Regions from separate parts of the Homo sapiens genome. Here all the other regions are linked to region 2. Evidence: promoter capture Hi-C in 16 types of primary human blood cells and fetal thymus (Javierre and others, 2016). All regions are on one chromosome and are shown on one strand. Each heading gives the region's core, a stretch centred on a gene start or on the middle of the fragment in contact. The rest is flanking DNA. Distances are from core to core; before and after follow the strand shown. Region 1 has its middle 14 kb from the start of ACTRT3. Region 2 holds the start of SEC62 (SEC62 preprotein translocation factor). Region 3 overlaps PHC3 (polyhomeotic homolog 3). Region 4 has its middle 11 kb from the start of PHC3. Region 5 overlaps LRRIQ4 (leucine rich repeats and IQ motif containing 4). Region 6 overlaps LRRC34 (leucine rich repeat containing 34). Region 7 holds the start of MYNN (myoneurin).

What was found. The method cuts DNA at HindIII sites, captures the fragments that hold promoters and counts their contacts. A CHiCAGO score of 5 or more calls a contact.
Region 1: a fragment that was not itself captured here is called in contact with the fragment with the promoter of SEC62 in region 2 in 5 of 17 cell types (total CD8 T cells, naive CD8 T cells, total B cells and 2 more); the score reaches 7.4 in total CD8 T cells.
Region 3: a fragment that was not itself captured here is called in contact with the fragment with the promoter of SEC62 in region 2 in 1 of 17 cell types (total B cells); the score reaches 5.7 in total B cells.
Region 4: a contact is called between a fragment that was not itself captured here and the fragment with the promoter of SEC62 in region 2, in 4 of 17 cell types (neutrophils, total CD4 T cells, fetal thymus and 1 more). The highest score is 6.5, in neutrophils.
Region 5: a fragment that was not itself captured here is called in contact with the fragment with the promoter of SEC62 in region 2 in 3 of 17 cell types (total B cells, naive B cells and monocytes); the score reaches 11.7 in total B cells.
Region 6: a contact is called between a fragment that was not itself captured here and the fragment with the promoter of SEC62 in region 2, in 4 of 17 cell types (naive B cells, total B cells, naive CD8 T cells and 1 more). The highest score is 13.3, in naive B cells.
Region 7: a contact is called between the fragment with the promoter of MYNN here and the fragment with the promoter of SEC62 in region 2, in 11 of 17 cell types (naive B cells, total B cells, total CD8 T cells and 8 more). The highest score is 13.5, in naive B cells.

Annotation. Positions count from the first base shown.
Region 1 is chr3:169,754,249-169,757,810 of GRCh38, forward strand. No RefSeq gene overlaps it. Among named protein-coding and RNA genes, the nearest start is that of ACTRT3, 14 kb to the right of the region's middle. The HindIII fragment of the contact is 5,302 bases long and covers 1-3,562 here.
Region 2 is chr3:169,964,212-169,968,281 of GRCh38, forward strand. SEC62 (SEC62 preprotein translocation factor) reads left to right here and starts at 2,596. Exons shown (of 8, transcript NM_003262.4): 1 at 2,596-2,647. The coding sequence starts at 2,612. It also overlaps the pseudogene FHL1P1. RefSeq lists an enhancer at 2,275-2,714. The HindIII fragment of the contact is 8,040 bases long and covers 1-3,256 here.
Region 3 is chr3:170,106,082-170,110,190 of GRCh38, forward strand. It overlaps PHC3 (polyhomeotic homolog 3), which reads right to left. Exons shown (of 15, transcript NM_024947.4): 12 at 751-865. The region is part of intron 2 of LOC105374209 (a long non-coding RNA gene); the gene reads left to right. Among named protein-coding and RNA genes, the nearest start is that of GPR160, 70 kb to the left of the region's middle. The HindIII fragment of the contact is 627 bases long and covers 2,121-2,747 here.
Region 4 is chr3:170,190,354-170,194,256 of GRCh38, forward strand. No RefSeq gene overlaps it. Among named protein-coding and RNA genes, the nearest start is that of PHC3, 11 kb to the left of the region's middle. The HindIII fragment of the contact is 3,214 bases long and covers 871-3,903 here.
Region 5 is chr3:169,828,995-169,832,536 of GRCh38, forward strand. It overlaps LRRIQ4 (leucine rich repeats and IQ motif containing 4), which reads left to right. Exons shown (of 6, transcript NM_001080460.3): 4 at 1,498-1,636. Among named protein-coding and RNA genes, the nearest start is that of LRRC34, 18 kb to the left of the region's middle. The HindIII fragment of the contact is 8,323 bases long and covers 1-3,542 here.
Region 6 is chr3:169,791,535-169,795,365 of GRCh38, forward strand. LRRC34 (leucine rich repeat containing 34) reads right to left here. Exons shown (of 11, transcript NM_001172779.2): 11 at 1,469-2,304. The coding sequence ends at 2,101. Among named protein-coding and RNA genes, the nearest start is that of LRRIQ4, 19 kb to the right of the region's middle. RefSeq lists an enhancer at 2,751-2,895 and a cis regulatory region at 2,823. The HindIII fragment of the contact is 5,168 bases long and covers 1-3,831 here.
Region 7 is chr3:169,771,703-169,775,509 of GRCh38, forward strand. MYNN (myoneurin) reads left to right here and starts at 1,694. Exons shown (of 8, transcript NM_018657.5): 1 at 1,694-1,760; 2 at 2,563-2,859. The coding sequence starts at 2,594. It overlaps TRV-AAC1-1 (tRNA-Val (anticodon AAC) 1-1), which reads left to right and starts at 528; the gene lies at 528-600. RefSeq lists enhancers at 244-343, 1,234-1,783, 1,357-1,860, 1,499-1,793. The HindIII fragment of the contact is 7,916 bases long and covers 357-3,807 here.

The DNA of each region.
Region 1 (3,562 bases), core at 586-3,085, 210 kb before region 2:
CCTCAGCCTCCCAAGCAGCTGGGACTACATGCATGTGCCACCATGCCTGGCTAATTTTTTTGTATTTTTAGTAGAAACAGGGTTTCACCATGTTGGCCAGGCTGGTCTCGAACTCCTGACCTCAAGTAATCTACCCACCTCGGCCTCCCAAAGTGCTAGGATTATAGGCGTGAGCCACTGCGCCTGGCCCCCAGCTTCCTAGTTTTGGGGCCTACATCCCCGAATAGCACAGGGCTGTAAACAAGATTTGTTCTGCCCCAGAATGACAGCCCCTGTGCCTTTCCTATTTAATATTACAAATAATCACAAACCATGTCCATGGTATTTGGTAGTTGCAAAGGGTCTCAAATAGGAGAAAATTTACTTGCAAATATAGCCTCTGAAAGCTGCATGTCCTGTCTTTACAATGCCATCTGTCATTGTATCCAGGGAAGAGGGGTACAAATTGGGAGAAGAGCTGGTCCCAGAAGTCTCTGAGGCATGCCTCCTGTGTTGTAGAGAACATTTCCTTCTAGGACAGAAACCACGCTAACCTCTCTTCTAGGACAGTGCCACAATACAATTATTTGGTAAGATAGCAATCATATAGCAGTCATGCCAATTTTCCTGCATCAGTTAAGGTACTTTTGAGTGAAGCAACAAAACCCCTGACGCTAACTGGCTAAAACAATCAAGGTGATTCATCAGCTCATGTATTTGAAAAGTCGAAAGGCAGGGCAAGCTCACACATTTTGGAAAGTCCAAAGGCAGAGCTCCACCTCTCTTTCTCTGTGTTTCCCTGGGCTTTGCCCTTCTTTGTGAGTTGACTCTGTCCTCAAACTGGCCTCCCTCTTAGTTGCAAGTGACTGATAGGAGCAACACTAGTTACTAACGTCTTCATTCCCATTAAAGGGGAGAAAACTCTTACTTCACTCAGCCATTAAACTGAAGTTCAGCACTTTGTTCTGATGAAGCCATCCCAGAACCAATCATGATGGCAAGAGAGGGGATTAGAACCATCCTTGGATACAGGCAAGAGTCAATCCATCCTACCTATGATGCATGGCTGCAACTGAATGCAGGAGGAGGGTGTGATGCAGGAGAGGCACCACTATGTATGTATTCAGCCTCTGCATTGATACCCTTGACCCCCGTGACTTAATACTACACACACACACACACAACTCTGAGAAACAGATTCTGTGTTTTTAGCCATTATCTCTCTCCCTGCCATCTTTACCTCCTGCTTTATCAAAACTTTTGGCAGGGAAAGCAAGGCAGGAAAGAAGATGAGGAAAGATAAGACAGAGAAGATATAATGTGTCCTTTATTTTAGTAGTAGAAGGACTCTGGAAACGATTGAATGATTCAATCTGCATAGCTACTCAAGGTTTGCAGCTGTGGCCAGATCTAGTCCTGTTGACAACCAGATATACATAGTGATCAAGATAAATTCTATTTTGGGAAATTCCAGAAGAGAAAGTAACATAGGTAGATTACCCAGAGGTTCTATACAAGTCTGGACAATTCTCCTTCAAACAAAATACTACCCTTTGGGTTAGTGATGCACCCTTAGTAATTAAGTAAAGGAACAATCTAAAAACATAAAAAAATTTGTGCATAGTTATTCACGATAGCAGTAAAAAAATTGAAAACAAGTTAAATATTCATCTGTAGGTGAAGTGTTACATAGATTATGATACATCCATTAAATGGAACATTAGGCAACAATATTAAATAATGGTTCTGAAGGCTCTGTAATAACATGGAATAATATTTATAATTTATTACTAAATAAAAAAGCAGAATTTGACATATAATTGTCTAAAATATATATATCAGGTATAAAAAGAGACAGGTATAAAATATATACATCAGGTACAAAGAGAGACTGGAAAGAAATGTACCAAATAATGACCTAAATTTTAATTTTGTAACTGAAAAACATTAGAAAGCACTATTAATTACAGATATCTACTTAGCATTTGCCTCTGTGCTGGTGAAATCATAGTTACAATTAGCTGGTCTGTTCTCTGCCCCAACAGCACTCCATCATGCATTCAACAAACAATTATTGAGCACCTGTTATGTACTAGGCACCTGGGATCTGTCAATGAACTCAATGACTTGGGTTCTGCCCCTATCCTTATAACCCAGTGAAGAACACAGATAAGCAAATAATTTATTGCAAATTAGGAAAACATGTTATAAAGGTAATCAACAGAAGATCATAAGAGGAGGGGTAACCTGCTTCAAAAGGGGGTCAGAGAGGATTCTGAGGAGGTGATATCTAAGTTAAGACTTGAGGAGGAGAGAAGGGGCCAGGAACTACAAGTGCAATTTAAGCAGAGAACCCAGGATGAGAGTTTGGTACAAAGGAGGCTGGTGTGGCTGAAGCACAGTGCAAGAAAAGAAGAGGGTGTATTAGTTTGTTTTCACACTGCTGGTAAAGACATACCCGAGACTGGGAAGAAAAAGGGATTTTATTGGACTTACAGTTCCACCTGGCTGTGGATGACTCAGAATCATGGTGGGAGGCAAAAGTCACTTCTTACATGGCGGCAGCAAGAGAAAATGAGAGAAGAAGCAAAAGTGGAAACCCCTGATAAACCCATCAGATCTCGTGAGACTTATTCACTATCACGAGAATAGCATGGGAAAGACTGGCCCACATGATTCAATTACCTCCCCCTGGGTCTCTCCCAAAACACATAGGAATTCTGGGCGATACAATTCAAGTTGAGATTTGGGTGGGGACACAGAGGGGTAAGCAGGGGGCCAGATTATACAAAGCCTTGATAAGAATTTTGGATTTTATTCCAAGTGCAACATGAAGTCACTAAAGTGTTGTGAAGAGAAAAAACATGGCTCAGTTAGCCTTTTAATAAGATCACTCTAGTTCCGTTGTGAAGAATGAATTGGTAATGGGTGTGAGGCAAGATAAGAAGTAGAAAGACCTGTCAGGTCTTTGTAGAAGATGGTGAACTGGGCTGGGGCAGTGGCTAACACCTGTAATCCCAGCACTTTGGGAGGCCAAGGCAGGTGGATCACCTGAGGTCAGGAGTTCAAGACCAGCCTGGCCAACGTGGTGAAACCCCATCTCTACTAAAAATACAAAAATTGCTGGGCGTTGTGGCACGTGCCTGTAATCCCAGTTCCTTGGGAGGCTGAGGCAGGAGAATCACTTGAACCTGGGAGGTGGAGGTTGCAGTAAGCCAAAATCACACCATTGCACTCCAGCCTGGGCAACAGAACAAGACTCTCTCTCCAAAAAAAAAAAAAAAAAAAAAAAAAGATAGTGAACTAGATTAAGGTAGTAGAAATGAAGCCAAAGTGGGAGGATCACTTGAGGCCAAGAGTTCAAGACCAGCCTGGGCAATATAGCAAGCTCCTGACTCTCAAAAAAATTATTTTAAAAATTAGGCTGGCGGTGCACATCTGTAGTCCCTCTATTTCTCACCTTTTTTTATGATATTGTCACATTAATTTTGTAACTGAAAAAATTAGAAAGCATTATTAATTAGATTACTTAGCATTTGCCTCTGTGCTAACTCCTGGGCTCAAGTGACCCTCGCACCTCAGC
Region 2 (4,070 bases), core at 1,346-3,845:
GGAAGGAAGAAGGTCTGGAGTGTAAAGAGCATAGAAGTGAGGAGAACAATTAAAAGGCCATTGCAATACTAGTTCACGTAGGTGATGATAAGGACTTGAACAAGGCAATGGTAATGGGAATGATAAGGGAGGGAAGAATTCCAAATATCTCAGCTGTAGAATCAACAGGATTGGTGACTGACTGGCAGAAAGGCATGGTTGGGATGCATCCAAGGTTTCTAGCATGAGTAATTGAGTGAACAACGATGTAGTTATTAGATTTTTACAGTAAAAGGGGCAGGTTTTGCTGGGGAAATGGTGATTTTTAGTTGGACATCCAGTGGAAACATCCAGAAGAAATCTGGAATTAAACATGAATGCAGTATTTTGGAATTAATCTGTAAACAGAATGCACAAATAGAAGAGACAAGAGGAAGGTGAACATATAAAAACGGTGGCCAGGAACATGTGAGAATTGGGTAAAAGGAGAGAAGTCAACGAGAAATCAGAAAGAAGTTGATATACATGCCAAAGAAGGAAAAGAAGTCAAGAAGAACAGTCAATATTGTCAAATACTGAGTAAGATGCCAGCTGAGAGAAGGTATTGGGTTTGACAAAATAATTGTTACTGGATGGTGGAGGTAGAAACCAAATTGTTGTAATCTAAGGAGTGAATGACAGAACAAGAGGACACTAAATTAAAGCTCTGCTGATGAAGAAAATAGTAAGGCAGTAACTTGAGGATGAGTCATTGTCTATAAAGGATTTTTATTCCCCACCATAGTCCTAACCTAACATTTGACATCTATCTAGTAGGCACTCAATACCTACTGAATGCAATAATATTTTCATTTATAGACCAGGTCTCCTATAAAATAGTCCAGTGTTTATGTCCACATAAAACAGCACAAAACAGATTCATCATTCTGGGTGGGTAGAGGGATTGAAGGAAATAAAGACATTTCATATTCTATATTATGTTTTGGGTTAATTGGCAAGAATAATTACTTCTTTCTCACCCCATCCCTGACTATACACACACCCAAATTATAGATTATAGAGGAGAAAGGAATTAAATGACTCCTGAGACCAGAACTGCATAGTCCAAAAAAAAAAAAAAAATTCAGCAATCTTACTTTATTAAAAAATTAGGCATCAAGATGCTGCAATTTGCCTTACTTACATATTTAATTGCTCTTAGGTTAGATATATAATATGGGAAACCTGGAAAAAAATTTTAATGGTATAATAAACGCTTACAACCTAACATTAAGTGAAAAAAGCAGCTGCCTTATTGCATATGATCTCAATTTGGGAAACAGGAAAAAATATAAATACAAACACACATGCACACACACACACAAAGTCAGAATACTATAAGAAAATAAACTGAACGGTCACAGTGGCTCACGCCTGTAGTTCCAGTTACTCAGGAGACAGAGACAGGTGGATCGTTTTGAGCCCAGGAGTTCAAGACCCGCCCGGGCAACATAAGGAAACTCCATCTCCACACAAAAAAAGTAAAAATTAGCCAGGTGTGGTGGCTCATGCCTGTAGTTCCAGCTACTCAGGAGGCTGAGGAGGGAGATCAGTTGAGACGAGGAGTTCGGTGATGCAGTGAGCCGAGACTGCGCCACTGCACTCCAGCTTGGGCAATATAGAGCGAAACTCAGCATCAAAAAAAAAAGAACATCTTTCTATTCTGAATTTTCCCAATTTTCTACAATTAAAAACGCTTTAAAGATCTCTATAAAGTCAGTCAAGGGAATTTCTATCTAAGCACTTACCAGCAATTTGAGCTCCTTCTCTTTTGGTCTAGGTGGCTCTAAAATAACAATAAAGGCTACAGTGATTGAAATTCACCAGACTTGAAATAGACTGCAGCCTTCTTCCTTCCCACCTTCTTAGAATCTTTGTCCTATTCATCTTCCTTACGCTTCCCCGGGTTCTCTTACTTCTGGATTCTAACAGTGAGTTGTGAGAAGCAACGCGGAAAACGGAATGGAGACTCCAGCTTGTTTTAAACGAGCTGTATTACCCCGCACAGTGCAGGAGAAAAGATAATTGGCTCAGGTCTCGGCTCTGCCATCTACCACCTGTGGAGCCTTAGATAAGTCAGTTCTTATCTCTGTCACTCAACGGTCTCGGTCTTGTCATCTTTTACATGGAATGTCATGAAATATACAGTACATTGCAGGAACTGCCTCAGGTAAAGACTTCTAGGGTTCAGTAGGTCTCAGTCGATCCCTCTGAGAAAGGCCGCACCCTAAATGCACAGACTCTGACTCTAAGGGGATGGGGTCGGGGAATCTGCATTTTAGTAGCTTCTCAGGTGATTCAGATGCTCAGTCAGGATTGAGAAACCAGGACTCTTCCCAGCCCTCCTGTTCTCTGATCCACTTCTCTGCTTCCTCCACGTCCTAACGATTCTCCAGTTCCCGCACAGCAGGAGCGGAGGGAAGAGGGGAGAGAAGGCACCGCTAAGGACCGCTGGCCCCGCCAGGCGGCCGACCTCCCCATTCCAGGGGCGCCAGCCGGCGGATTACATAACGGGCCTCGGGGCGCGTTCTCGCGAGGTTTCCACCGCCCCCTCCTCGCTCCACGTCAGAGGGAACCGGGCGGAGCGGCCAACATGGCGGAACGCAGGAGACACAAGAAGCGGATCCAGGTAGCAAAGCCGAGCTCTGGGCAGGGGGCTTCGGCGCGCTGGATAGTGGAAGGGGCGGGGAAAGCCCCCTAAAAGGGCGAGCGAAAGCAAGGGCGAGGTGGGGTGGGGTGGGGTGGGGTTCCGCCGCGAGGCAGCTGGCTGCAGGCTGCGCGTTGTGAGGGGCCTGAGGGGGGGCGGTGTTGGCGACGGCGGAGACAGAGACGGAGGTGGTGGTGGAGCAGCAGGGGAAGGAAGGAGGCGCCGCGCTCAGAATCCGGCTGCGGAGGCGCGGCTGTGGGCCTGGAGTTCCTGTGGTCGCGCTGTCCCGGGCCTGAGCTGGAAGGTCAGCCTCCCCTGGGGCGCAGACGCTGACCCTTCCCGGGGCTCCTCCCCTCCCTTCACCCCATCCTCTGGCCTTAGCTGGCCTGAAATTAAGGCCACGGTAATAGGGGTAGCAGGAGGCGGCGGACTGACCTAAAGCAGCTGGTTCTTTGTGCGCATAGACCGTAAGGGGGAATGATCTGGACTTGGTCAGCTGCCTCGGGGCCTAGGCAGGGATCTGCTCATCCAGATGTTCAGTTGCGTTGCCCTTCTTTCCCTTCAATATTATTAACTTAATAGTCCACTTGAAGCTTGCCGGCTTTTTTCCGGGCGACGTGGTGTAAACAACCACAACCTCGTTGGTGCTGCAACGAGCTGGTGGAGCCCAGAAACCTTTCACATGCCAGTGTGTCATCCTCGTAGTAACGTACATAACATCTCCCCCTAATTCCACATGCGTGTCATTTGTGCATTTCTTCCTTGCGATTTTCCCTGGTTCTTGTTCTTTGCCAAGAGGATTAATTATGTAGAACATCTTGGACTCAGGATATTTATTAGTCGTCTCATCAGCTGATGTGCTGAGAAACCTTCATAAGCCCTCAAATTGATCACATGTAGTAAATTGTTACTATAATCATAAATTGTTACATTCATCATTGCCTTTCTGTTCCTTACTATTTCATTGCTTAGAATGATTTTTTCTTTCTTCCATTTTATCCCTTCTTTTTTTTTTTAAGTTTATCGATTTATTGGCGTACAATACAGATGTTTTGAGCTATGCAAGTTAAAATTCTTCTGTAAACTTTTTAAGTGCTGTGAAAAAGACACACATGATCAGTAAATTTGGAATTTTGGAATTTGGCAGAAATAAAGTAGTTCCGAACAGGGTGCAGAAGGGAATTAGAAAGAGGCAGATTTCGAGTTCAGACAGATAAGACTAGGTCTTAAGATCAGTAGAAGTTTCTAATTATACTGTTCTTAATCTTTCAAGAGTTAGTGTTATTCCTCTGACGTGGGTATACAGTATTTTATTAGATTGTATATTGAAATTGTCTGTCAGATTTGTACTTACAGAACTCCTTAGATTTACACTTGACAGTACAATTTTATGCCCTTCAATACA
Region 3 (4,109 bases), core at 1,184-3,683, 140 kb after region 2:
GGTGCCTGTAATCCCAGCTACTCAGGAGGCTGAGGCAGGAGAATCTCTTGAGACTGGGTGGTGGAGGATGCAGTGAGCCGAGACGGCACCACTGCACTCCAGCCTGGGCTATAGAGTAAGACTCTATATCCAAAAACAAACAAACGAACAAACAAAAAAATACTACTTATCTGAAATAATGACTATTGAAAATACTAATTCAGAAAAGACAAGTATTTTGCTGTCTGATAATGTTAACAGTGTGGGGAATTTATACTACAGCTGTCCCATAAGAAATCTAAAATAAATAGGATGATTCAAACAAATGAAAACATTTTAAAACAACACAAAGTAAATCAAAGTATTTCAATAATGATAAAACAGCTGATAAAACAAATACTGTTTTTGATACTTTAAGGACTAGTATTATATAATCATGATGAAATCGTGATGACTTCATTGAAGGGATTCTCCTAAATATATTCTTACCATCAGGAGATTACTACTTTAATATTAGATTATACTGTACAATTGATTTTAAGTATTATGAATATGTAATTTTCGCAAAGCAAAATCTAGTAACTAAATACTAGGTGGCTCCAGATACTGCCTATTTGTATTATTCTTCTATATAATAATATCTAGGTTTCTTCTATAATATTACATATTAAAATATCTATAGTTATCCTTGGTAAGCTATTCAAGGGTTTTTTGGTTTAGTTGCAATGGCTATTTATCTGTCCTTTGGGAAATTCAAGAGCACAGAAATACCTTTTGGCACATGACATAGTGCAGAATCGTTTTGACCGCAAAAATTCATTAGCATATCCCATTTTCCCACAGAATTCACACTTGAGCAACTCACTGTCCATTTCTTCTAATGTCTCTAAAAAAGAAGGAAACAAAGGAAAAAAAGGTTCCAAAAATTTAATTATGCAAATTTTCTTTAAGTCTATACTTTGGTTGGATACTGCTAGCAAACCAATGGCCCTTTAACTTTTCAATCCACAGCCACTCTGGCAGGGCAAAAGCCTTCAAAACACAACCACTGCTACTAATTCCCTCTTGCTTCTGCATAAAAATTACAAGGAGTTTCTTTCTATATAAATAAGCATAACATTTTAAAAGGTTCATCTTGCTTACAATCCATCTAAAATGTAAAAAAAAATTATTTATAAACACTGGGAGAGAAATGAAGATGAATAACATAGGCATTATCCTCCAGGAGGAACACTTTCAAAAAGCTGAGGGTGGGATATGAATTTTGATAAATTGCACTGTGGAGATACATAGCAGGGAACTCTTAATTCTAACTGGAGAGAATAAAGATGGCTTCAAAATGGTGAAATTGTGATATGTCTGATTTTACAGGAGCATGCAAAATAATTAACTCTCTCGAAGATCTGCAGTATATGATAAAATATATAAAGATGCATATATCAGGAGGCTGAGGCAGAAGAATCGTTTGAGACAAGGAGTTTGAGACCAGTGTGGGCAGCATAGCAAGACCCCATCTCATTCATACATATATATACATACATAAAATTCTTTAAAAAGATGCATATATCTAATTATAAAACAGTTCCTTTTAGTTATATTGCATTAAAATAAAAACTAGGCTTAAAAATCAGTTTCATAATTCCCAACCACTGATGCTTTTTTTCATCATGCTTTTCTTTAACTTAATGGGTGCTCCCTACTAAGTTAGAATGTCCTTCTTCCACCCTACATATGTAACTATCTTCAGGCAGTAACACAAAGCGCAAAGACCCTTCCATGCTAAATCCCCGGGTACTCGGCAGGAGTCACCCATAAGCAAACAACTAAATCTTCATGACCCACAATTTTCTCATCTGTAAAATGGGGTTTATAATACATTTCCCAAAGAATTGAAGTGGCAATTATATGTGTGCCCAAAAGGTAGTAGGCATTAAAAGTGATAGTTCCATTTCCTATTTTCCACATAAGAACTAAAAGGGTAGTATGACATGTAATAGCGCTCAAGAAATACTTTGGTAAAACTTGTTAAATTCTTAAATCAACCACATTTTGCCATTTTCTTGCATCATCATAATTCCTCTGCCAAGTCATATTAAAAAAAGCAACAAAAGCATTTTACTGAAAAGCATTTTACTAACTAAAGCTTTTAGCTGTGAACTCCATATGTGTGCTCTTTCTATGTTACTCATTTAATAAAGACTAAGATAAATACAAGGACTCAGAAATGTAGACATGGGTGGCATGTACTCAGTGAGCTCAGGTACTCACATTACCTCAGTTTTACTGGGGAAGCAGATGGCAAAGTGCTAAATTAAGTGAAGTAGCAAGAACTACTAAAAAAACAAACTGTGAATTAATATTTGACATTGGTGGGGCATCCAAATACATTATCCTGAATAATGAAATCATGAACTGACACGTGACCAGTTTAAGGAAATTCTCAGGACTACCTTCATAAGCAAAAGTCATCAATTTAGTAGCAATGAGGAAGAAACAGTCTCAAAACAAGTAAATTAAAAATTGCCCCTTCCAATGACCTTCCAACGGCCCAGTCAGGAGATCCACCAACACATTCCTGAGACCTGAAAACATAATTCCTAGAAGTACTGTTTTTATTTTGTCATGCTTATAATCTGATCTTACTATAATCTGATCTGACTGAGAAGCCTATAGGGAGACAGAACTTCTCACTCAACCACCACTGCCATTAGTTCCAGCCCTGAAAGAGTCCATTCCTCAGGGTTATTCCAGGAACAGGATATGCTAAAAGCTTTGTTTCAAAGATCTTTTGTTAATTAACATAGCAATGTCCAACACCTGATATTAAGTCAGAATACCTTATGAAGGAGAAGGAAATGTTTTTGTTGGTGACAGAGAGGAAATACCAAACAGAAATGGTTTACAGTTAACCGAACAAAAATAAGAGTAGTATAAGTTTTATTTCTCATAAAGAAGCGAGGGACATTAACAGATTCAAAAATTCTTGTTCTAATGTTCAGTCAGATTTTTAACAAATTTGGTAATATTACCAAGGTCACTCTTTTACATTTATGAATTAGAAAACTGCCAAAACACTTTTTTAAAACTGCTGATTTAGCTAATAAAAATGGGATTCTATGGCAGAGACAGCTGGTAATTCTCCAGCATCCACTCTTTGCTTTTCTCCCATAGTAACAAAACCCTACGAACATGGCCACCCAGATTAAAAACAAGTTTCTGCCCTAGGTGTGGCTGATTTGTAACCAATGGCATATGACTGTAAATGCTCACAAATTCCAGATGGTGCTCTTTCCCCCATCTCATTGGTTAGAATGTGATCATGAAGATCAGCCATCTTGGAAATAAAAGTAACATTCTACAGATGACAGAGACATAAGACCCTGGAGCTTGAGTGCCCAATACTAAGGAACTACCACATAAGCCCTGGACTGATCTTTGGGTTATGTCAGAGAAAATTAAATTCCTATCTTCTTTAATCAAATATTATTCTGGATCTCTACTGAAGTGGCCAAACCTGCTTCCTAATCTAGATCCCCCATTTTCTGGCATGAGGGGAAGTTATTTTTTATTTCCCCCAAAGACCTGAAATCACATGAGGACAGCAGCAAAAAGAGGCAATGAGATGGAAATCATAATCAGTGTGAAGATATACCAAGGAAGACCATAAGCTACTTTGATGAATCACAATCTACTGGTTGGAGACTCTCATTATAGAACCAGTCTAAAGAGAACCACAGTTTATCCTTTATATGCTTACCAGAGGTTTTTTATGTTGAAACTATATATACTACTAAAACCAAAGCCACTAAATAAGTGACCTCACCATTTTACACTATAGTACTTCCTATAAACACTGAAGTACATAGTAACAGAAACATGAAAATTATAAAATTACCTTGGGAAATTAAAACTAGAAAGTATTTAAAATTTTAGCACATTTTATGTAAACATTTCTCCCCTATGAAATATATTATCTCTACATCTTCCTTTCCTTACTCTGATATCATATCCTGCTGATATGATAACATCAGTCCTTTCCTTTGAGAACATCAGTCCTTTCCTTCCTCTTCCTGCCATGACTACAGGTGTCAATTACATGCAAAATTTATACATACATCCTACAGACGGCC
Region 4 (3,903 bases), core at 1,228-3,727, 230 kb after region 2:
ATGAATGAAACTCCTTAACCTCTCTAATCCCCACTTTGCTAATCTAAAAAATGAGAATAATATTTACCACAAAGTTATTGTGAAATTAAACAAAAAATGAAATAATGTATATAAATAGAACATTAAAAATGCTCAATAAGTGTAGCTGTTATTGTTCACTTTTTGTTGTTTTGCCACATATTATTATGCTAAACTAAAGCAAAATAATCCTTCTATCCTATTTCCAAAGGACATATTCTTTAATTATGAGGCAATCCCTAGTTTTGAAAGTTAGCATTATACATTTCTTTAATTTGCATATGCTATATTTTAAAATATTGGGCTTCTGTAACTGAGAATAGATTTTTGCTTGTATACTTCTAATGTATTAAAATAAAAATTTTGGCCAGGCACAGTGGCTCATGCCTGTAATCCCAGCACTTTGGCAGGTCGAGGCGGGTGGATCACGAGATCAGGAGTTCGAGACCAGTCTGGCCAACAGAGTGAAACCCCATCTCTACTAAAAATACAAAAAATTAGCCGGGTGTGGTGGTGTGCGCCTGTAATCCCAGCTACTCAGGAGGCTGAGGCAGGAGAATCGCGTGAACCCGGGAGGCAAAGGTTGCAGTGAGCCAAGATCATGCCATTGCACTCCAGCCGGATGACAGTGCGAGATTCTGTCTCAAAAATAAATAAGTAAAATAAAAATTTTTGGCCAGGTGAGGTGGCTCACAGTAGTCCCAGCTACTCAGAAGGCTGAGGTGGGAGGATCATTCAAACCCAGAAATTCAAGGTTGTAGGGAGCCATGATCGTGCCATTGCACTCAAGCCCGGACGAAAGAGCAAGACCCTACTATCTCAAAAATAAGTAAATAAATATTAAAAATATAAAGCTTTATATCAGTGTCATGTCAAATCTTTTTTTTTGTTAACTCGGTTTTTTGGCCTCCAAAAGTGCTGGCATTACAAACATGAGCCCCTACACCCAGCCCAGAATAAGCATTCTAAAGACCTCTTATTGTTGTAATTGTAGAATTATTCAAGGGCCTCAGCAGAAACCTTACAAGCCAGAAGGGATTGGGATCCTATCTTCAGCCTCCTTAAACTGAGTAACAGTCAGCCAAGAATTATTATTATTATTATTATTATTTTAGACAGAGTCTCGCTCTGTCGCCCAGGCTGGAGTACAGTGGCACGATCTCGGCTCACTGCAACCTCTGCCTCCTGGGTTCATGTGATTATCTTGCCTCAGCCTCAAAAGTAGCTGGGATTACAGGCATGCACCACCATGCCCTGCTAATTTTGTATTTTTAGTAGAGGCGGGATTTCACTATGTTGACCAGACTGGTCTCGAACTCCTGACCTCATGATCCACCCACCTCAGCCTCCCAAAGTGTTGGGATTACAGGCGTGAGCCACCACGCCCAGCAAGAATTTTTTTTTGAGAGGGAGTCTTGCTTTGTCACCCAGGCTGGAGTGCAGTGGCACCATCTCGGCTCACTGCAAGCTCCACCTCCTGGGTTCACGCCATTCTCCTGCCTCAGCCTCCCCAGTAACTGGGACTACAGGCACCCGCCACCACACCCAGCTAATATTTGTATTTTTAGTAGAGACGGGGTTTCACCGTATTAGCCAGGATGTTCTCGATCTCCTGACCTTGTGATCCACCCACCTCGGCCTCCCAAAGTGCTGGGATTACAGGCATGGGCCACCAAGCCCGGCCCATTAAGAATTTTTTTTTAAGGCAGGGTCTCACTCTCTTGCCCAGGCTGGAGTGGAATGGCACGATCATGGCTCACTGCAACCTCAACCTCCCTGGGCTCAGGTGACCCTCCCACTTCAGTGCATCCCACCACACATGGCTAATTTTTGTATTTTTTGTACAGATGGGGCTTCACCATGCTGCCCAGGCTGCTCTTGAACTCCTGAGCTCAAGTCATCTCCCATCTTGGCCTCCCAAAGTGCTAGGATTACAGGCATGAGCCACCACGCCCAACCTAGCCAACGATTTTGTATGTAGCAAAACTAAGTTTCATAAATAAAGGAGAAATAAAATCATTTTCAGACAAACAAATGCTTAGGGAACTTGTCACTACCAGACCAGCCCAACAAGAAATGCTAAAAGCTGTTCTAAATCCTGAAACAAAAGGCTGATATGCACTAGAGTAGAACCTCTTGATGGCATAAAACTCATGGGGCATATAAAACAATAACACAGTGAATAAAACAAAGTATCTAGGTAACAAATAACATGATGACTGGAACAGTACCTCACATCTCTCTTTTTTTTTTTGAGATGGAGTCTCACTCTGGCGCCAGGCTAGAGTACATTGGCACAATCTCGGCTTACCGCAACCTCTGACTCCCTGGTTCAAGCAATTTTCTGCCTCAGCCTCCCGAGTAGCTTGGATTACAGGTGCCTGCCACCATGCTCAGCTAATTTTTGTATTTTTAGTGGAGACGGGGTTTCCCCATGTTGGCCAGGATGGTCTCCATCTCTTGACCTCGTGATCTGCCCGCCTCAGCCTCCCAAAGTGCTGGGATTGCAGGCATGGCCTTTTTGGGTTTTTTTGTTTTTTGCAGGGAGGGGACAGGGTCTTGCTCTGTCACCTGGGCTGGAGTGCAGTGGTACAATCTTGGCTCACTGTAACCTCCACCTCCTGGGCTCAAGTGGGCTTCCCACCTCAGCCTCCTGAGTAGCTGGGACTATAGGTGTGCACCATCACACCCAGTTAAGTTTGTGTGTGTGTGTGTGTGTGTGTGTGTGTGTGTGTGTATTTTTTGTAGAGATGGGGTTTCGCCATGTTGCCCAGGCTGCTCTGGAATTCCTGGGCTCAAGTAATTCTTCCACCTCAGCTTCCCAAAGTGCTAGCATTATAGGTGTGAGCCACCACCATACCCAGCCTCAAATCTCAATATTAATGTTGAATGTAAACAGCCTAAATGCTTCACTTAAAAGATACAGATTGGCAGAATGGGTCTAAAAATTGCAAACCAAATATCTGTTGTCTTCAAGGGACTTATATAACACATAAAGATTCAGATAAACTCAAGGTAAAGGAGTGGATAAAGATATTCCATGCAAATGGAAACCCAAAGCAAGCAGGAGTAGCTATTCTTCTATCAGATAAGATAGACTTTAAAGCAACAACAGCCAGGTGTGGCAGTTCACACCTGCAATCTCAGCCCTTTGGGAGGCTGAGGCAGGAGGATCCCTTGAACCCAGGAGTTCAAGACCAGCCTAGGCAACACAGCAAGACCCTGTCTCTATGAAAAAATTTAAAAATTAGCCTGGTGTGGTGGTGTGTGCCTGCAATCCCAGCTAATGAGGAGGCTGAAGTGGGACAATCACTTGTGTGTCGTAGGTTCAGGCTGCAGTGAGCTGTGATCATCCCACTCTACTCCTGCCTGAGCAATAAAGCCAGACCCTGTCTCAATAAATAAATAAGTAAATAGCAACAACAGTAAAAAAAAAAAAAAAAAGGACAAAGAAGATAATTATATAATGATAAAAGGATCAATCCAACAAGAAGATATTACAATCCTAAATTCATATGTACCAATACTGGAGCTCTAAGATTCATAAAACATTTACTACTGGACCTAAGAAATGAGATAGACAGCAACACAATGATAGTGGGGCACTTCAACACTCCACTCGCAGCATTAGACAGATCATCAAGACAGAAAGTCGGCAAAGAAAAAAATGGATTTAAAACTACACTCTAGAACAAATGGACCTAACGGATATTTACAGAACATTCTACCAGAGAACTGCAGGATAAACATTCTTCTCTTCAGCACGTGGAACATTTTCCAAGACAGATCATATGATAGGCCACAAAATAAGTCTCAGTAAATTTTTAAAAAACTGAAATTTTATCAAGTATCTTCTCAGACCACAGTGGAATAAAACTAGAAATC
Region 5 (3,542 bases), core at 721-3,220, 140 kb before region 2:
CTGAGAAAATATGAGGTCTCCACAGGCTGGATGTAGAATCATCCATACTAGATTTCCAGCTTCAGACAAGCAATCATTTTTACATTTTGAGGTTTCCACTGTCCGTGAACAACTCTTCAACATTTCATTGTGATTGCTGTTGGATATGTCCTGCCATACTTCTTTCCACTGTGTGATTTGGTGTGTTTCATTTGCAGAAATTGAGTCATAACTCTTTCCATTTAATTTCCACTTTTTATAAGTAGCCCCCTGAAAACTGGACTATTTTGAAGTTAAAGAGTATCATACAAGTGACATGCTGGGAGCCTACATTTTGGTGCCCAGGATTTCCTGTAAGGGGAAGTGTGACCTCTCTCCCTGATTGGAAAAGGGAAATCATGTTGCACCAGCTTCCTGGATCTGCAGGGCTGTGAGGAATACTTGCAAAGCAACAGGATAACTTCATTCAAAGTAGCCATAGTAGGGTGTCTTCATATATTCATCCTTTAAAGAACTGTTTTTTTTTTTTCATGTTCCTGTTGCTGCACTTTTTTTTTTGACAGAGTTTCGCTCTTGTTGCCCAGGCTGGAGTGCAATGGCTCACTGCAACCTCCACCTCCCGGGTTCAAGCGATTCTCCTGCCTCAGCCTCCCAAATAGCTGGGATTATAGGCGCCCACCACCACACCTGGCTAATTTTGTATTTTTAGTAAAGACGGGGTTTTGCCATGTTGGCCAGGCTGGTCTCGAACTCCTGACCTCAGGTGATCCACCTGCCTCGGCCTCCCAAAGTGCCGGGATTATAGGCATAAACCACCGTGTCTGACCTGCTGCACTCTTAATGATGATAAAGTAGGCGTGGGCCACCACATAACCCCAGTCATGCAATGCCATGCACAGCATAGGTAGTTCTCACTATGACACAGGGTGTCTCTTCCTAATTCTCCATTCCTTTGCCCTGTGTTCATAGAACACCTTTCATCAGCTTTTCCTTTGTACCTGTCATGCCACAATCTTAGGGTGAAGTACAAACATTAGATTTTTGCCCAGTGAAGTTGAAAATAGTTATTTTGAATACATTCAAATCCATTCCCTGTGCATTTTGGCTACTTTCACTGAGGCAATATTGGGTTGATAGTTGAGGCAATTATCATTCTGTAGCAACTGCCACAGACAATTAGCTATTAAAAAAGGAGTTAATGATAAATGTAGTTAAATTATTCAAATTATTTTTCCATAAAGTTCTGGTGAAACAAATAAGCACTAGATGTCTGTAGTCTCTTTTCCCTGCATAAATGGAAACTAAGTCTAATGGATTTACTCAAAAATAATTTTGGGTCTTGATGATGGTCCTTTAGACATGCTTTTTCCCTTAACTCAATGCGTAATTTCCCCACTGAAAGTGAAAAAAAAAAAAAAAAAAAAAAAAAAAAAAAATGCATGAGCACCCACAGGTGATTCTGGTTATTATAATTAATTAATCAAGGTATATTATTATGGTACACTCATGTTATTTCAGAGTCTCAAAGAGCTATATATAGAGAACAATCATCTGGAGTACCTGCCCGTATCCTTGGGGTCAATGCCTAACCTAGAAGTTCTTGATTGCCGGCACAATTTGCTTAAGCAACTTCCAGATGCCATTTGCCAAGCACAAGGTGAGGAAACTTAGTAGATTCACAGCCTAGCAGAGTTTGTGGCCAGCATTTCCTATGGCAAATGGCTTCCTTGCTTTGCTAAAGACCTATCTCAGTGTTCAGAGAACTGAGTCTATCCCATTACTTCCTTGCAGGGCTCACTTAGCGACATGGGGGAGGCCAGGTGTCCTGATTAGTATAGCTAAGAGTCTTGCAAAGGCAGTTAAGTCATTTATTAAAATGGAAAGGTAAATAGCGACTGCTAAGAAAATTAGCATTTACCCATACATTTATTACACTACCAACAATAATTTACTGTACACTTACTACATGCCAGAATTTGGAGTTGGGATCCTGCAGTAAATTTCATCTAGGTCACGGAGTCACTTGAGTAAAAGAAAAAGTATTGGCCCAGAGTGGTGAAATTAGCAGGAGACTTTCTTGGAGCTACATAATTGACCTGGAAAACTATATATGATTCCTACTTAAATAGCCAAACATTTTCCACTACACTAAGCCATTCTTTGTCTGTACATTCATCCATCCACTTAATATGCTTTTGCTGAGCACCCACTGGGACCAGATTTTAAATGTTTCTTTTTTTTTTTCTGAATCCTAGGCTTATGCACATGTTTTCAAACTATGGCTATTCTTTTTTTTTTTTTTTTTTTTTTTTTTTTTTAAGACAGAGTCTCGCTCTGTCGCTCAGGCTGGAGTGCAGTGGCGTGATCTCGGCTCCCTGCAAACTCTGCCTCCCGGGTTCACGCTATTCTTCTGCCTCAGCCTCCTGAGTAGCTGGAACTACAGGCGCCCGCCACCACGCCCGGCTAATTTTTTTTTTTTTTTTTTTTTTTTTTTTTTTTTTTTTTTTTTTAGTAGAGACGGGGTTTCACTGTGTTAGCCAGGATGGTCTTGATCTCCTGACCTCGTGATCTGCCCACCTTGGCCTCCCAAAGTGCTGGAATTACAGGCGTGAGCCACCGTGCCTGGCCCAAACTATAGTTATTCTTTAATGAAAAAAGAATGGAGAGAGTGGAAGCTGATGCCTACTCATAAGGCATTCAAAAACTGGGGGCAAGGCCAGGCGCGGTGCTCACGCCTGTAATCTCATCACTTTGGGACGCCGAGGAGGGCAGATCACCTGAGGTTAGGAGTTCAAACCAGCCTGGCCAACATGGTGAAAACCCATCTCTACTAAAAATACAAAATTAGCTGAGTGTGATGGCACGTGCCTGTAATCCCAGCTACTTGGGAGGCTGAGGCAGGAGAATTGCTTGAATCCGGGAGGCAGAGGTTGCAGTGAGCTGAGATTGCACCACTGCACTCTAGCCTGTTAACAGGGCAAGACTCCGTTTTAATAAAAGTTAAAAAATTTAAAAAAAAAAAGAAAAAAAAAATGGAGACAAGGGGTTGTATGCAGTAATCCTTAGTAATGCTCCTGACCATAAATTTTTATCCTGTCCTTGGTCCCTGGAGGAGTGAAATATTCTCAAAATTTTTCAGTGTTTTCTATTTTTCTGTCTCTAATATTTATGGACACTGGCTTCAACAACTTTGAATTGTTATAAAGAAGTTGTAGGCCAGGCGCGGTGGCTCACGCCTGTAATTCCAGCACTTTGGGAGGCCAAGGCAGGCAGATCATGAGGTCAGGAGTTCGAAACCAGCCTAGCCAATACAGTGAAACCCCATCTCTACTAAAAATACAAAAATTAGCTGGGCTTGGTGGTGGGTGCCTGTAATCCCAGCTACTCAGGAGAATGAGGCAGGAGAATCACTTGAACCCGGGAGGCGGAGGCTGCACTGAACCGAGATGGCGCCACTGCACTCCAGCCTCGGTGACAGAGCTAGACTCTGTCTCAAAAAAAAAAAAAAAATAGCCAAGTGTGGTGGCGTGCACCTGAAATCCCAGCTACTTGGGAGGCTGAGG
Region 6 (3,831 bases), core at 1,232-3,731, 170 kb before region 2:
ACTGGTGGTGAGATATGTAGGAAATTTCTGGTAGTGGTTGGAAATGGGGCCTGAACCAGGAGATGTTAAAACTAGAGATACAGATCTTGCAGCTAATAATTTATAGAAATGATTAAGGCAGCCCTGGGAGATGGTATAGGAGAAAAAAAGATGAGGACAGAATTTGGGGGAAAATTCATTTAAAGGATAAGCAAAGACGGAAAAGAAGATGGAAAGTGATAGCAGAAAGGAAGAAAACCAAGGTGGCACACATTTTTCAGAGGCAAAAGTGGCTTTGTAGCAGTCACATGGTACAGAGAAGTAGGATGTAAATCTGAGACAACATTGGGCTGGATAATTGGAGCATGATGATCCTTTAGAAGGCAGGTACAGTATAATAGTGGGAGCAGAAACCAGATGGATATGGTTGTAGTAGATATTAAGAAGACATGATGAATGATAATACTATAGAAAAGTTTGAAAAGGAGAACGTTTAAGACAAATGATCATTATTTTCCCAAATATCTGAAAAGCACATACTGCTTTATTTTTTGCTTTCAAATTTGAAACATTGTAAAATGATGAGTATAATATGATCTGCAACAGTGTAAGGTGAAGCAGTCTTTGAACTGGGTCTTAAAGGATGATTGCTAAGAGAAAAATGAAACAATACATACAATATGATTGCAGATTTGCTCTTTATAATTTAGATGTGCAGAGAAAATGAGAGTTTTCCTATGGAACTTATATGTCCTTCCTCTTGAGCCCATACCCAGTGGTAAGTCTGGAAAAAATTAACTTTTAGTTTTAGCCAGTTTAAAACCTAGTCTGATATAAAGGGGATAGAATTTATATCTTAAGGGATTTTAAGGTAATGCTTAATCTTTTGGAGAAATGCTGTTTTATTTCTGCCTTTTGTCTTTCTAAAATGGTGTCCAGACATATCATACAAGACAGGGGCATCAGGGTAGACAGAGTCTTTGTGGAGCCCTTCCATTCTCTGGGTTAATTATACTGACCTCTGTTGTGGCAGGCAGCAGCTTATAAAATAAGTAACAAGTCTTTCCTAGTCTGGTCAGAGTCCAGTTGTCCTTGGCTGAACTGACTTCATCTCAGTTCTTTTGGATGCGGAAAACTCTCTGAGGCCCTATCACCTGCAACTCTGCCTCAAGCAGCAGTGTAGGTCAGGTTACAGGTTTACCACCTGCACCCCACTGTAAGCTCAAGGTAAGCCTACTTGCTTCTCCTTCAGCCATCTTCTGAATCTCCCTTTGGGGGAATATGGGAACTTGTGGGTCTCTTCTATAGCACACAGGAAGAGACAGTAGCCTGGGAAATCAAACTCTTTCCAGAATCTGGTAGACATCCTACTACCCAGCATGTGAGGAATACTACAAAGCAATGAAAAGTGAACAGACTACTGCTACATGAAACAACATAAATGAATCATACTAATATAATGTTGAACAAAAGAAGCCAGACACAAAGAGAGTGTATACTGTATGCTTCCATTTATATAAAGGTCAAGAACAGGCAAAACTACTCTGTGGGGTTAGAAGTCAGGATAGTGGTTATGAGAGGAGAGTGGGAGAGCTGGCAGCACTGGCTTGTTGGGAAAGGGGTATGTATATGTTTATATATATTTGCCTGTATTTATGAAATTGTTAGTAACACCTGTCTGTAACACGTAAATAGGATAGGTAGAATACTTTTTCAACTTCTGAACTTTGAAACCCTTTGAAAGTCACTGGTAATTTTCTACCACAAACCTTTTTATTAATACTACTTAATAACTTTCAGTTAGATACCTACAATGACCTTTACTTGTACGCTATTTCACTACTTGGTTATATTTTCATTATAAAAAGAAATTTAGTCTAGTTCCTTGGTCTCTTTCTCCAGGGTTAGAATTTTAGTCTCTATATTGTAAAATTTCTTTTAAAAAATTACCCTACTCAGTTTTTCACAATAGACAGTTATACAAAGTTTAATACAGTCATTATCTTTTACACATTTGAAAAAAGTAACTTGTTTTAATTTATAAAAGAAAATAGGCTATAGAATATTAATCTCTGTGAAACAATAAGACAAGTGTATGAAAATTATTTTACAGCTACTTTTTCATGGCTGTTGACCTACTGGAACAAGAGCAAAACCTGCATTAGATGAGTGGTCATAAGATTCTCCATAAGTTGATGTCCAATAATAATGCTTTTTAAGGCCATTGGAGACTTCTGCAAGATATACACGTCCATCTACCACAAATGGCTCCACATCTGTATTGTCTGGTTTTAGACAACCCATTTGAATTAAGTCTGAATATGCCTAGGATTTTTAGGAAAAAAACTATATCATTAAGAAAAAATGTATTCAATTTACAGTGCTTACGGAAATTTAAATATTCAAATTAGCTGTGCTAATTTGTAGTTTAAAATAAAATATTCTGAATAACATTGCTGAATTTTAATATTTTCCAGGTATTGTAAATAGATTTTTATTCATTTAATTACACAGAATGAAATTATAATATTGCAAAACTTATTTCTAACTTTTAATGTATTAGACATGTTTTGTCATTTTGTGACTCCTAGAGTTGATTTTCTATACTACCAATTTTGTGGACCAAAGCTCCTATGGTCAAAATTTTCAAGTCCCACAGATGTTCATAAATTGGAATAGGTAGGGGGGCTCGGTAGGAGGCCTATTGTATACATTCTCAAAAATCTGCTGATAGCTAGTTACCCATTCCTCAGAAAAATTAAGGGAATCCCAGATTTGGACATACAATTATATAGAGTTCATGACCCCCCTGAATCTAATCTACAGATTTAGGCTAAAACAGACAATTCCATAGTATTGGATGCGGACCTATTAATTATTTCTTCATTGTAGAATTTTTATACTTTTTTTTTTTTTTTGAGACAGAGTCTTGCTCTGTCGCCAAGCTGGAGTGCAGTGGCACGATCTCGGCTCACTGCAACCCCTGCCTCCTGGGTTCAAGAGATTCTCCTGCCTCAGCCTCCCGAATAGCTGGGACTACAGGCCCAGCGCACCACCACACCCAGCTAATTTTTGTACTTTTAGTAGAGATGGGGTTTCACCATGTTGGCCAGGATGGTCTCAATCTCTTGACCTCGTGATCCCCCCGCCTTAGCCTCCCAAAGTGCTGGGATTACAGGCATGAGCCACGATCCTTAGTATCTATGTAACAGAGTCATACAAATACGTTGAACTGGTTTGTCAGTAAGGTTGGCAATATGGAGAAAGATGGAAATTTAGACATTAAAAGATTTAAAAGTCAAGTTGGTTTTTGCTTTAGCTTGTCATTCATCATTAGTTCCAGTTCCAGACTCAACTTATTCAGCTACTGATGTGTAGAACCTAAAGAATTATGGATGTTTTTCTAAAAGTAAGGGTTGGTTTTTTTGGGAGGGTGGTTTAGACAACACTCTATGTTTTATTACTCTTTTTAGTGGTGGAATTTTTGTTAGTCCTTTTGCAAATTTTGAGAATTTTAACATCTACTTTTTCCCCCTCGTTCTTTCCAAATGAAAACTGTTACCATTATTTCTGTTTTGAAAGTAGTATCAAAGGCTGTCTGTATTTATGTGAGCAACATGCCAAATATTTTGATAGCTTGTACTCTATCTCTCCCATTCCATATTTTGGTATAATTATTAGGGAGCAGATCAGAAATTTTGCTACATCTGATCAATAATTATGATTTTTCTTAACCTTAGAGGAATTAGAACTGTGTCATTCAGTGATGTGTAATACTAATACATAGTTTTAATATCTTTGGTTATTTGAACCACCAAACTCTCTAGTAGTTAATTTTAAGACTTATGTTAA
Region 7 (3,807 bases), core at 444-2,943, 190 kb before region 2:
CATGTCAATAAACGCATCTTGGTGTCTGATTCTGCATACATCTGTAGAGAATTTGAAAACAAGCAGTCAATTTAGAACTTCTGCTTGGTCTTCGGAAGCAAAAAGAGGAAATTCAAAAGTAATTTTACACGTCCTTCCACCAGAAGCTGAAAGGATGGCTTTTTCGCGGCTGAATAACGAAAGCCCCCTGCTTCGCCCCGGACTCTGAGCAGCTCAACCTGCGGAAAGGATGTGTAATAAAACGCCTTTCCAGGGAGACAAAAAAAAAAAAGGCCACCCAAAGGAAGGGCAACTCGGGAGTGCCTGGTTTCTACTGCGGTACCCGGGCACTTTGGAAGAAAGTGCGTGCAGATTCAAGCTTTTGAAATGGTTTCAGCTCTGTTCAATTGGGCATAGGCTATTTTTCCTTTTCTGTTTTTTTCTTTAAATACATTATATTCATTCCTCTCAATTTGATAATAATCACTTGAGAATTGCGAATTGACACTTACATATCAAGGACTTTACAAAACCCTCTCCAAAGTGGGGTTTCCGTAGTGTAGTGGTTATCACGTTCGCCTAACACGCGAAAGGTCCCCGGTTCGAAACCGGGCGGAAACACACTAAAAAATCCCTTTTTTTTTTTTTTTTTTTTTCCTTCGCTTGGAAGAAAGCGTGAGATCACGCTTTGTTTTCTTTTGTTGTTTGTTTTGTTTTTTTTTCTGAGGGAAGCCTTAGCTTAATGTATGCCGGTCCTTCAAAAGACATGATAGCAATTTGAGAGTCTGAACTGTAAGTTTTTGTTACTTTATTCGTTCACCAAATGTTTTTATGGAAGCCTTGCCACGTGGAACATGTGTCCCGGGTTTTAAAAAATGAATTTGACTCACCAGCTAACACTGAAAAAATAATGTACAGCCTAGAAGGAAAGATCAAAGTGTAAAAGTGGTTAGTCCTGTCGCCTCCTGAGCATTTTTGTATTATATCACTTGGTTTTTCGTCTGAAGTGGCTGTAAATAATCGTATTAAAAATCTTCTGGTCCAGACGCAGGAAAACCTTTTCCGGTATAAAGCCCACCTTCCTCTAATGTTGCGCATGCCCACTGTGCCCAGCTGCTCCGCTTTCGTGCATCCCAGACTTCTGTCACCAGGTAAGGGCATCTTGGAAGCTGAGCTACAGTTGGCTGGGGCACAAAAAAACCAGGGGGTGCCAAGAGTTTTCAGGTACGTAAGCGGGAAAGGGGTGCCAAGTCTCAGCTAAAAAATCCCCTATGGCAGAGATCCGAGTACACATGCAGCAGTTTCCACCGGTGGGGCCCCGAGGAAGGGGAGGATGATGGGAGAAGACAAGCAACTACAAGCCCCCGCACGCAGTGCGCAGCTGGCTTCAGGAGAGAGGCCCGCGGTGCTGTGCTGCCGGGCCTCGGCGCAGAGCCCCGGCAGAGCGCCAGACGCTGACTGCCGGCACCAGAATGCTCGCGATGAGGAAGACAGGCGGAGCGCTGCGAGCTAGCGAGCCCTCAGCTCTCGTATCCATGACGCCTGCTGCTTCGGGGGACCCCTGGCATGCTGGGGAGTGGGTCTCTGTGGTACATCCTGTACCGCCCTGGCCGGCGCCGGACCCCCATGGCCCCAGAACCTCCCGCACTGCCACGGGAAGACAGAGCCGGACGTGACGCCACCGTGGAAGGAAGGGAGGGGCGGAGCGTGGCTCGGTGACGTCCTCCCAAGATGGCGGAGACAGAGTGAAGAAACTGTGTTCCCCCCTTGGGTTGCTATCGGTGAGTTCCTACTTCACCCCCAGCCCGCCATCCCGGTCTCTCTAGAGCCTGGGCCATCAGAGGGCAGGCTCCTTGGAGTTCCAGCACGGGTCGGGGCGCAGGTGGAAGGCTTGGGCTAGGCAGCCCCGGGGTGGCCTGGGCCACAACCTCTGCTGTGGAAATTCGCGGGAGTGGGAGCTGGGCAGAGGGCAGGGCGGCAGAAGCCGAGGAGGGACTGGCTTTGGTTGTCACTCTCGGATGCCGCCTCGCGTAGAGAGTGGGAAGGGAGAAGGTGTGGCCTCCTTAGCGCGAGTGATAGAACCTTTGACAGCAAGCCATGGCCGGGCGCATTCCCGGCTTTCTGGGCAGCCACCTCTCGTTTTGGAGAAACTGCACTGGGGAAACTAACAGGTTTTGGTGACTTGAGAGCAGTTTTTAAAAACTCGTACTGTTCTGCCCCTATCTGTCCCAAGAGATCATGTCTTAGTGGTTTAAAAAATTTTTTTGTAACATAAGTATGTCTACTGAGCTTGAAAATCTGAGGGTTCAACAGATGTGAAAGCGTCAGGTTTTGCTGTGCTTTTTGCAGGTGGTAGAAGTGTTGCCATTCACCGTCACTTATTGATGTGTCCAAAGGATTGTGTTAGTTGATCAAGGTAACCAAAGATAGAAAGGCACTCATCCCTTCATTCTTAACCATGTATGTTTGATAAGGATTTTCAAGGGGGCTAAAATTGTTTAAGTTATGTCCTCTGTCCCTTCCCTCACTGAACGTTGATGAGAACTTACGGTTACTGATTTACTGTTTCTTTTTGTCTTTTAGATCAAGGGTAAAATTCCATTCTGATATCAAAATGCAGTATTCGCACCACTGTGAGCACCTTTTAGAGAGACTGAACAAACAGCGGGAAGCAGGTTTTCTCTGTGACTGTACCATAGTGATTGGGGAATTCCAGTTTAAAGCTCATAGGAATGTGCTGGCCTCCTTTAGTGAGTATTTTGGTGCGATCTACAGAAGCACTTCTGAGAACAATGTCTTTCTTGATCAGAGTCAGGTGAAGGCTGATGGATTTCAGAAACTGTTGGAGTTTATATACACAGGAACTTTAAATCTTGACAGGTAAAGTACACATTTTATTTTCAGTTATAAAAGCTAGTCAGTAGTCTTCACAGCAAAAGTAGATTTGTATTTTTTCCATTCATTCTCTGAACTCAAATTCTTCACCTATTTATGCACACAATGTTTGTTTTTATAAAGAAATCAGTATCACTGATTTAGGATGAGCAGGCAATATTTTTCATAAGCACAGATAATAAACAGTAAGATTTCTGACACGTTTATTTACTGAAACAAAGCCTGTGATTTCACTTATGTAAACTTGAACATTAAACACAATGAATTTATTTTATTTTATTTTTGAGACGGGCTCACCGTCACCCAGGCTGGAGTGCAGTGGGGCAATCTCGGCTCACTGCAACCTCTGCCTCCCGGGTTCAAGCGATTCTCCCACCTCAGCCTCCCTAGTAACTGGGACTACAGGTGTGCACTACCACACCTGGCTAATTTTTGTATTTTTTGGTAGAGACAGGGTTTCACCATGCTGGCCAGGCTGCAAACAAAAAATTCTAAGTTACTTCCAGTTTCCCATTGCTTTTTGGTCCTTGAATTCCTCTGGTCTTCTGTCTCCCTCATTCTGACTCCTGTTATCTCTATTAACCTACCAGTACTAATACTGAAGTAAGGTCAGAGATGCTAGAATGATTCTCTAAGATGCTTACTGATGTCACTGCATTAACAAGAAGTGGGTTCTGAGGAATCTGATAATGTAGGCACTGTGTGTCTCCCCTGTATAACGAACCATATAATTAGATTAATATCAATACATTTACAGATTGTAGGGGAAAAGGTGGAGGGAATAAAAGCAAAGAGAAACTGATTAAATTACCCCTGTCTTATTTCTGTCTCTCTTATGAAAGTGAACATGAATAGACTGTTCATAATCTTCTGACACAGGAAGATTATAGGCTTTGGAATTAGATCTTTCCTGTCAGTCGCTATGTCTCCTTG